2 separate regions of the Homo sapiens genome follow, and region 2 is linked to region 1. Evidence: promoter capture Hi-C in human tissues and cell types (Jung and others, 2019). All regions are on one chromosome and are shown on one strand. Each heading gives the region's core, a stretch centred on a gene start or on the middle of the fragment in contact. The rest is flanking DNA. Distances are from core to core; before and after follow the strand shown. Region 1 holds the start of MS4A4E (membrane spanning 4-domains A4E). Region 2 holds the start of OOSP1 (oocyte secreted protein 1).

What was found. The method cuts DNA at HindIII sites, captures the fragments that hold promoters and counts their contacts. A contact is called where the count stands out against the background at its distance.
Region 2: a contact is called between the fragment with the promoter of OOSP1 here and the fragment with the promoter of MS4A4E in region 1, in 1 of the 25 tissues and cell types used here (adrenal gland).

The regions. Positions count from the first base shown.
Region 1 is chr11:60,240,015-60,245,508 of GRCh38, forward strand. MS4A4E (membrane spanning 4-domains A4E) reads right to left here and starts at 3,123. Exons shown (of 9, transcript NM_001393391.1): 1 at 2,944-3,123. The HindIII fragment of the contact is 6,388 bases long and covers 1,878-5,494 here.
Region 2 is chr11:59,934,607-59,939,968 of GRCh38, forward strand. It overlaps OOSP1 (oocyte secreted protein 1), which reads left to right and starts at 3,826. Exons shown (of 5, transcript NM_001395276.1): 1 at 3,826-3,924. The coding sequence starts at 3,849. The HindIII fragment of the contact is 12,909 bases long and covers 1-5,362 here.

The DNA.
Region 1 (5,494 bases), core at 1,873-4,372:
TAGAAGACCAAATTAGAAGATATTCAGTCTTCCTCAAAATTTATCTTTCAGATAAAGGAAGGTGGCACAAGGAATATTATGTGGAGATTACTTCAGAACACTACAAGCAGTCCCTAATCAAGAGAGGCAAGAGCTAAAGGTAACAGGAATGCTAAGAGGGCTATGCGACTGCAAATGTCCTTTCTTGGTAGAAGGCCCAACAATTAGCTCAGTTGTCTGTGTTAAATGTCTGGTAGTTTGTCATTGATACCTTCCGTTACATACCTTCTATGCTCCATCAATCATATTCTAATTCTACGCAACCATTTTTTAACTCTGTATTTCTCCCATCTCCTCGTGCCAAGCCATCATCCTATTTTTATCAGGAGTATTGCTTACAGCCTCTGAATGTTCCCCGGTGTCCATTTGTAGCCTTGGATGTTCAACCCACCCCTGACTTTGTAGCCAAATGATCAAATGCAAAGACAACTGTGTCACCCTCCCCTTTAAAGTCCTTTCTTTGCATTTCACCACCTTTAGTATAAAGATAAAAATTTAATGTTGTTGATATTGCTGCTACTTCAACCCATATCTATTATCGTAGCCTTACCTTGAATTTCTCCTTTTTATTTTTTAAAGCCCCAAGTATATTGGACTTATTTAAGTTGTTCTAAAGTAATTTCATTCCTATATTGAGACATTTGCATATGTTGAGCCCGTTTGCAGGAATGTTCCACTCCCCCGGCCATGACCACCTTACAAGAATAGCAACAAACCCACCACAGCATCTAATCTTCTCACACACTAACAGTTTTGCATAGTTTCTGTCTTCTCTCAGACACCATTCTCCTACAGCCCCCATTTCCCGCATGTGGATTACTCAACCTCTAGTGGTAACTAAGGATTTAAGAAATCTATGTTATTTTCCTTTTACACCACAGAAACCAAAGTTATTTTGAAAGAAACTGAAGATAATTCTTCTTAGTCCATCTAAATGTGTACTTTTTATTTATTTATTTATTTATTTATTTACTTATTTATTTATTTTGAGGCGGAGTCTCGCTCTGTTGCCCAGGCTGGCGTGCAGTGGTGCAATCTCGGCTCACTGCAAGCTCCGCCTCCCGGGTTCACGCCATTCTCCTGCCTCAGCCTCCAGAGTAGCTGGGGCTACCGGCGCCTGCCACCACGCCTGGCTAATTTTTTTGTATTTTTAGTAGAGAAGGGATTTCACCGTGTTAGCCAGGATGGTCTCGATCCTCTGACCTCGTGATCCACCCACCTGGGCCTCCCAAAGTGCTGGAATTACAGGCGTGAGCCACCGCACCCGGCCTATTCTTTAATGTAAGGGAAACTCGGCCTCAATCTCTCACGCACACCTTCAGACTGAGAATTTAGGACATGTTGGGTCTGTCTTATCAAACACACTTGGTAGTTCTCCCTCTGTGTTTAGTGCCTCTCGGGTAAGGCTGTAAGCTTCCTGAGGGCCGAGCCATTATATCAAATTAAGGCTTATAATTGACTCTTATGATTTTCCATAATTCTTTGGTAACATAGGTCAGGTTCTGGTCATTCAAGGCTGGTGCTCTGTCTTTATAAGACATTCTTGACATAAATTTATATAACTGCCTCCTATCTTTACACCACAGAAATCCATGTGTTAATTATCTAGGGTAGATAAGGTCCCCAAGGAAAGAAAGCGTGTGTTTACAAGACTCCACTTCTCTACAATCAAAATATATATTTTTTAACTGCAGAGAATATTGGATACATATGAGGGAGGGACATTTCTTTCAGGTTGGAGAAGAATCTAAACCTTGGTTTTGCCACATCACCTATATGCATCAGGTTCTTGACAACTACAATGTCTTCCCCGCCCCTCCTCCCCACCCCGGATAAAGAGGTGGGGTAACCTAGACCACCCTTCCCTCTTCTATTGGCCCCAGTCTCCTTGTGGATCAGCAGCACCAGCAGTCTCTTGTTTCCTCATTTTTATGTCACCATCCCCCTTATGGGTCACAACACAAGAGAGCATGAGGAGAGTGGTATACACGGTCATCCCCTTTTTCTTGGCAGAGTTATCAAATAGACTAGAAACCCAAAATGAGGCCTGAATCTGGATGGTTTTTAGGAGGATGATGGGGATGCAGAAATGGTGGCATGGGAAGGGAAAAGGGGGAAAGGCCTGGGCTAGGAACCAAGAATTCTGGGTTTTTTGCTCCTAGCCCTTTTGTTAACTTGTGTGATTCTAGGTACATTATTTCCCTTTTCTGGATTTCATTTACTTCATCTGGGGAAAGATTACAATGACTACGACTACTTACAAGCTTCTTTCTTATCCTAAGAATGCTAAAAGTCTACAAGATGTTTTTCATTTGCAGATTTTATCATGAGCAGCCTCAGTTTACTGCCTGGGTGCCACATGAATAGTGCCAAAGACCACTGGAGAACTACGTCAGGCCACAGCCCATCTAAATGTACAAGGCTGGGGACCCTGCCTGTGCCCTACTCCATGTACACCAAATTCTGCACGTGCTAGATCTTTTCTTAAGTCTTGAATTATAAAAATAACCAGTCAGAGACAAAGAATAAAGACCATGGAAGAAGTGCATTAACAGTAGATGAGGTAATTAATCAAAGTTTAAAATGTTGCTTACAGTGTTTTGGTATCCTGAGAACTTACGGAACAAAAGTAACTAAAACAACTTCATCCAGCCTCCAGTGTCAGCCTTTAGGAGGCTTTTCTAACTCCCATCAACTGTAGCGAAGACTGTTCCTCAACCACCCACAACCCTCACCAAATGCATATTTAAATGTGCACTCAATCCACCCCAACCCTGACTACCAGCTTGGGTCATGGGAAGTGACCTCATTTTTTTTTCTCACTCCACTCCCAGAAATCCTAAACCCAGGAAATGAAACAAACTATCAGTCCGAGAGCCTAGGAAGGCAAGTCCCTGGACCTACCTTTCTTCAGGCCTGCAATGTCTGCTGCAGGTCTGATGAGTGCAGGGCTCTGGGCAAGTTCCTCAAAGTTCTTTGTTCCAGACACAGTCAGCTTCCCCCACTCCACACCTCACTCAGTTTAAATCTGCACTCCTTTTCTAGTAGATGTTTGGAACCTTAAAGGATGTGTTGAGAACTTCTGAGACACACAACTAGTTCCTCTTTTTTATCGGAAGCATTAACTGATTTTGCGTTCCCAATATGGGTGTGGACGTTTATTTTGAAATTTGCTGAAAAAGCAGTGGCTGCCTGATACAGTCTTTCCTATGAAAATAATAGTGCTAATTACTGTGGGTATCAGTGGTGGAGGATTTTCTGTTTGCCAGACTCTGCTCAAAGATTGTTATATACACAACTAAGTAAATGGTAATTTATAAATGCCCCCTTTCACAATTTCACACATTTCCACAGTACTCTTCTTCCCAGAGAACTACTGTTACTATTGTATTAGGTTGGTGAAAAAGTAATTGTGCCTTAATATACACAACTTAAATATCTTATTTTCATGATATTTCACCTTTGGAGGTTCAACATGAATAGCCACAAAATGGGAACAAGTTGGTTGTACAGCAATAATTAATACAACACCTTTCTAAGTCAAAGAAGCAGCTGGTATCATAGAACAAGCTGGTCTTTGACTAAGACAAACCCAATGGCAATCATTTCTTGTATGACCTTGTTAATCCCCTGAACCTGATTCATTGGTAAAATAAAATAATGCCTTCTTTACATGGAGGAAAGCAAAGTGGCATGCAATTTTCATTCACTCAGCATTTTCTTAGAGAAAAGCTACTATAAGCCAAGCAGTGTGCCATGTGCTTCAGATAAAATGGTGAAAAATGATTTTCGCTCAAGGATTTTATAGGCTACTTGACAATATAGACAAGTAAATAAATCACCCATTATAATCAGTTACCTGCAAGGTAAAGTGGCAATGCTGATGAATAAATAAATCATTACAACCCATTATAATCAGTGATCTGCAAGGTAAAATTGGATATCCTGAGAGAGCTCATAGGAGGATCAAAGAACTCAACGTTGGGTAGGTAGGCAGAGGAGACTTCCTAGATAAAGGGACATCTAATTGGAGACCTGATGAATAAGCAAAAGACACACAAATGGAAGAAGGATGGAGCTAGGTAACATTATTATTCCCATTTTCCAGAAGATGGAACTGAAACTCAGAGATATTCATATAGCTGGTATAGATGAGATTGAAATCCAGTTTTGCCTAATCCCAAAAACTTTGTTGTCTATAATCTGAAATTATTTTAATTCTCAGAATTAAATGGGTTATATTTCAGAAATATTGTCCTGGTTTTCATGTAAAGCAACAATAGGAATAAATAATACTGAAATCAGGGAGTTAGGGTTAAGAAAGAGGCAGTTCTCTAGGGAAGGGATGATGGTTACTGAACTACCTATGATGCTAGTGAAGTTGGAGAGAATGAATGGATTTGAAAGATGTTTAGGAACGAGAAATGACAGTACTTGTTGATATAATGGATGTGTAAATCAGGAGAGAAAACAGGAAAGGATGGCGCTCAGATTCTGGGTTAGGAAACTGAATGAATGATAGAGCCATTCAGTAAGGCAATAGACATGGACCAAGACAGAACTGCAGGAACAAAGAGTAAGACTTGGAGCATATTTAATTTGAATTGTGTGGGCACCTTCAAATAAGGTTCACAAAAGTTGGATAACTGGCAGGAGCTAGGGAATGAGAACATGGCTGTAGAGGTAAACCCAACAGCTCTTCACCCAGAGGGATGAGGTTACCCAGGCTTGTGGGAGGAGGCAGAAAAAATCAGACCCTTTTTGCTAGAGAATAGAAACAGTATTATCAGAAATAAGGGTTTCCAGAGGATGGCAAAAAGAGATTAAAGAAGATAACAGGCAAACTAGGAAAATGTGGCATTACAGAAGACAAAGGTACAGAGTTTCATGACTTTATAAGAGAGGTTGAAATTCTAGACTAAGAACAGATGTCAATCTTACCTCCTCTTCCATATAGTGTGAAGTGAGATATTATTAGTGTTATTCTTAGCAGACAAGTGATTGAGGATTTATGGTGATATAAAGAACAATAAAATTGAAATTTGACAGAGAAACATAAATAGAATCACCCTACCTCTAAATAAGCATAGGACAAAACTAACTACTATACAAATAAAAGCAAATAAAAAAGAGCTCAAGTTCAGTGACAAAACAACAAGCAGCAGAGTAGGTCAGAGCCCAGAGCAGTTGTTAATTAATTTTTAAAATTATATTGGAAAAGCGGGGTCAGTTGTTCCTCTGTCCCTCACACAGGCATCACCTAACAAGGTAGTTTATCCCCAAACCAAAATATGAGAACTGTTTTATGAGCAAAAAACCAAACCAAAAAACTGTTTTAGGGTTCTGCTCTAGACAAGTATATAGAATGTGAGTGCCAGCTCTGAGTAAAAAACAGGAAAGAGACAAGAATTAAGGTCTAAGCTTCCATTCACAAGGTATAAAGGAAAAGCAAAAA
Region 2 (5,362 bases), core at 2,576-5,075, 300 kb before region 1:
ACATTTAGTTATTTTCATTAATATTCTAAAATACCTGTTTGTGAGAATTTACTGTTCCATTAAAGAGGTCATTAATAGGTCACATTTCTCTATAAAAACACTAATCTTATCAGCACAGTTTGTATTCTCTGTGCTGAAGATCCCCCAGAGGCACTGCAGTGAACACACAGGGATACCAGGGGATATTTTAAAAATTTCGGGGAGACAGTGAGTGATACTTGACAACTGTCAGACATGATGCAAATTACCAGCTCAAGGTAGTCCACAGTTCCACTTTGGTGGCACTACATTCTTTTCTATTAGTCCACAACTTTGTGCAACTTGGGATCTAGTGGTTGCTGTGATGAATAGCCAAAGCAGTTACTGTGGGAAAAATCCATGTGGAATAAGGAATGAAGATGGTGATGCCCAATCTGATTTCAAGAGCTGAGATGCTGTGCAGCGTCAAACAGTTATACACATATTATTCATAATTGTGGTTAAAGAATAAAATAAAAATATTTTCTTCCAATGTATGTGTTTTCAAATGGCTACTAAGTTGTCAGCACAAAAATACTGAAGTTATTTTGATGTAACAACATAATAAATGAAGCTGTTATGTATTTCTTTTCATGAAAGGATGCCATAAAAAGCAAACAAACAACAAAAGTTACTGTATCATTAAGAGAACTAGGTGAATGTTTGGGACCCTCTGCTATAACTAGTCACATATCCTAAAAATTTTCTAAGGGAAATAATTCTTTTTGTAAAAAAAAGAAAATTTGGCAAGATAGAAGTGTAATTCTCTAAACCCAAGGCAAGAAAAGAGAATGCAGATGCGTATAGGAGAATTACTCAGTATCTTCAGCCTCTGAAAGGGAAGGCTGGTTGAGCCCCGGTCCAGAGATTTATTGAGAGTGAGACTGAAGTATCCTGTTTCTCTTAGTCAGGGAGACACTTCTGTAGGCCAGACCATTGGACACCTTAGCTAGTGAGAGGATTCTTTCTTATTTTTTTCTGTCTGAATACATGTGTAAATGGGGACATAACTGCCATATTTTAGTGTTGCTAGCCATTTAGCTGAGAGTTAATTTGAATTAGTTAGGTGTCTGGGGATCCCACTGGATAGAGACAAACAAATGACACAGTTAATAGTGAATTACCAGCCCTGTACTGGTCATACTCCAGTCGAAGTAAAATGCTCAATGTGTATTTAGCCTGCTTCTATTAATTATTATATTAAATAGGTGTAAGCGAGTCTGTTGTAATTATGACTCAGATTCCAGAAGGAATAAGTAAAATGTGACCAAATAGAATCTGAAGCAAAAATTAAACAAACTTTGAGGCAAAAATACCACAAGCAAAATCAAAAGACAAATGACTGCCTAGGAGGAAAATATTTGCATCTTATATCGCGGATAAAAGGATAATCTCCCTAATATATAAAGAGCTCTAAAACAACGGAAAAGCTATAGAAATGTTCTTAAGATTATAACATTTTTAACTTCATTTATTCTTGCCAAAAAGGTTCGAGTCTAATTGTGAGGAAATAATCAGATTCTGAATGAGAGTCTTTACTCAAGATAGCTAGCCAAGACTCTTCTGAAAAGACATTTCCATACAAAACAAAAGTCATGAGGTACAACTCAATAAGATGAGAAATAACTCAATAAAAATGAATAAAATATTTGAATAGATACTTCCTTAAAAGGATATACACATGGCAGTCTGGGCTTGGTGGCTCAAGCCTATAATCTTAGCACTTTGGGAGGCTGAGGCAGGCAGATCACCTGAGGTCAGGAGTTTGAGACCATTCTGGCCAACATGGCAAAACCCTGTCTCTATGAAGAGACCCTGTCACCTCTTCAATGCTTCCATCCTCACCTTGAAAGTATTGCTCTTCCAGTGATTTAACCAGGTAATTTTTAAGATTCAAGCCACCTATTCTTTACTAGTTTATTGACGATTTGATAACAATAGTAGTTTCGCAGATTGTCAGATACACGAGGCTAAGACTGGGTGGCTGAAAGTCAGAGACATTGCCTTGTGCATCCTTAGGTACCTGTGGACAAGGTTTTGACATTCATTTGGACTGAACCTTAGCACTGTCCATCTAGATAGCAATGTATCTGAAATGTTTTAATATACCTTTAATCTCAATACACATTAAATTAAAAAAGCATAATTATTAAAATTAAAATATATTTGTGTCTTTAACACAAGTGAAATGTAAACATTTCAAAAACTTAAAAAGAGGCCATGCTCAGTGGCTCACACCAGTAATCCCAGCATTTTGGGAGGGCGAGGCAGGCAGACCACTTGAGGTCAGGAGTTCGAGACCAGCCTGGCCAACTTGGCGAAACCACATCTCTACTAAAAACACAGAAATTAGCTGGCCATAGTGGCGGGCGCCTGTAATCCTAGCTGCTTGGGAGTCTAAGCAGGAGAATCGCTAGAACCCAGGAGGCAGAGAGTGCGGGGAGCGGAGATCGTGCCATTGCATTCTAGCCTGGGTGACAAGAGCTAAACTCCATCTCAAAAAAACAAAAACAAAACAAAAACAAACAAAAATTTTTAAAAGGAACAAATGCTAACTAATTCTATTTTTTTTCTTTCTCCTGCCATCTTTTATTGGGCACCCATTTTGTGAAAGTTAGGACACACAAAAATACAGAGGAATGATCTCAACCTTTGAAGAGCTCATCATTTAATGGCATTTTAGAACTTTTAGAACAGACTAAATTTAATGATAAAATTCAGATAATATCAAGGATAGTTAAATGCATTTATATAGTCTTTTCTATTTGTTTTTGGTAAGCTCCTACTTTCCACGTTCTATTAACGTAGGACACAGTTGCTAAACTCTAATAACTGGTTATTAGCGAAAAAAATCAGAATATATTTGAACCAAACATTCATTTAGGCTTGTTTTGGTAATGAGATTTTGAATTTCTCATTTTTAAGTTGGCATCTTCTGTTTTGAAGAAAGGAATCTAAATGTGAGTAACCATTTACAGGCATTGCTACTCACAACGTAGTCTCCAGAGCAACATCCCTGCAATCTTAAAATGCAGAATCTTAGCCTTCACCCCAGACATTCCGAATTAGAATCTGCATTGTAAAGAGAGCCTCAAGTGATGTATATGCTCCTTAAAGTTTGAGAAGCAAACATCGCTGCTAATGGGCATCAACACAGCATGCACTCTGAAGGCAAAACCCTGTAGACCAGGGATTCTCAAAGTGTGGTCCCTGGGTGGTCAGTATGAGCATCGCCTGGGAACTTGTGAGAAACATCAATTCTCAGGTCCCAGCCCAGTCTTAGTGAATCAGAAAACTAAATGACACTCAGCTGTGCTTCAATAAGCTCTCCCGGTGATTCTGATATCTATTAAGTTTGAGTACCACTGTTTAGTTGGTGAAAACAGGTGAAAGTAGATGAAATCTTTCAATTCCCATGTTCTCAGGGCTTGGCCTTCTGAGATGCACAGAACAAGTAAATTATCATCCAGTTATTTCTTTCGTGTTCAGATGTGGAGACAGATGTTATAGGATATTAGGAAGTTTTAATAAAGTAAACCTTAGTGCATAAAAATAACTATATCTGATGCTTTGGACTCTAAAACAAGTGAAGCCTTCTGTTGTACTTCTATTGCACATTTTGCTTTATCTTTGCTCTTGTTTTTTGACATTTGAGTAAAAAGTGTAACATCTTAGAAAATGAAACAAAATTATATTTATGGCACGTGTGTGCTGTCCAAAGTTGTAATTAATTACCCACACCTATGTGTGGCTTCAGGCATTTTGGCATATAAGGCTATTCTCCCCAACTTCCTGTTTCCTGAGTGAGGTTTGGTTTTCAATCTGGGCAAATGAAGACCATTCTGGGGTTCAAAGGGCTCTTTTATCTGCATTCCTTGATATGGACCTGCGCTGGGGACTGGTCAGGTATAACTTATCACTTGGGGAATAGAAGTTTCTTAAAGAGAGCTGAAAGATGTGGCTTTGGATTCTTTACAGTTGTGGTCTGGTTGAATCTTAATAATAGCCAAGGACACATGGAGGGGTGGTGCCTCTTTTCGATGTGCAATCTTGAGATACCATGTTTTTCTCTTGCATACCGGCACTGAGACTAGGGAATGTGCCCTAACCTGAGACTGTCTTTCTCCAACTCCCCTTTCCTTTTGATCTTATTCTGACCATATCAATTCTTGGGGATCAAGTACTTGAAGTGGGTTTAATATAAAGAGTGTGGAGTGGCCTGGAAAACAGAGGAGTGGGTGGTGGTAGGAACTTGGGACTCTGTGGTGTGTCACATACAGGAAGAAAGCCTTATAAGGCTTAGCCTTTCTTTACCTTATACTTCATAGATCCTTTTCATTTCAGAGGGAGCAGTCAGTGCCCCCTAAGTGAGGTGAGCAGTGGTCCAGGTTTTCCCAGTACTTTTCCTGCGTCGGCCCCAAAAACCTCCTGTTCGGAGCAAACCAGAATGATTGGTAGCCCTGAGTATAAACTTGGGCTGTCAGTTTCTCTTCCTCTATTTCTGCTTCTCTTTCTCTTTTCCTTTCTTTCTCTCCTCCCTTCTTTCTTCCTTTCTTTCTCTTTCTCCCTCGTTCCCTCCTCCCTCCCTCTTTCTTTTCTTTCCCTTCCTTCCTCCTTTCCTTCTTTTCTTCCTTTCTTTTTTTTTTGGGACAAGAGTCTCGCTGTCACCGAGGCTGGAGTGCAGTGGTATGATCTGGGCTCACTACAGCCTCTGCCTCCCGGGTTCATGTGATTCTTGTGCCTCAGCCTCCCAAGTAGCTGGCACTGCAGATGTGCACCACCACATCCAGCTAATTTTTGTATTTTTAGTAGAGACGGGGTTTTACCATATTGGCCAGGCTGGTCTCAAACTCCTGGCCTCAAGTGATCTGCCCACCTCGGTCTCCCAAAGTGCTGGTATAACAGGTATGAGCCACTGTGCTGAATGCTTTTTTCTGTTTTCTTTTCTTTCTCTCCTTCTCTCTTTTTCTTTTTTTTCTTCCCTTTCTCTTCCTCTTCCCTTTCTATTACTCTTCCCTTTCTCTTCCTCTTCTTTCTCTTCCTCTTCTCTTCCTGTTCCCTCTTCCTCGTCCCTTGCTCTTCCCTTCCTCTTTCTCTTTCTCTTCTTTTTCTCTTTTTTCTTTTTCTCTTCTTTCCCCTTCTCTTTCTCATCTTTCTCTTTCTTTTCTTTTTCTCTTTCTCTTCTCTTTCTCTTCTTTCTCTTTCTTTTGTTTTCTTTCTTTCTTTGTCACTCAGGCTGGAGTGCAGTGGTGCCATCGTAGCTCACTGCAGCTGTGAACTGCTAATTAAAAAAAAATTTTTTGTAGAGACTTGCTATGTTGCCCAGGCTAGTCTCCAACTCTTG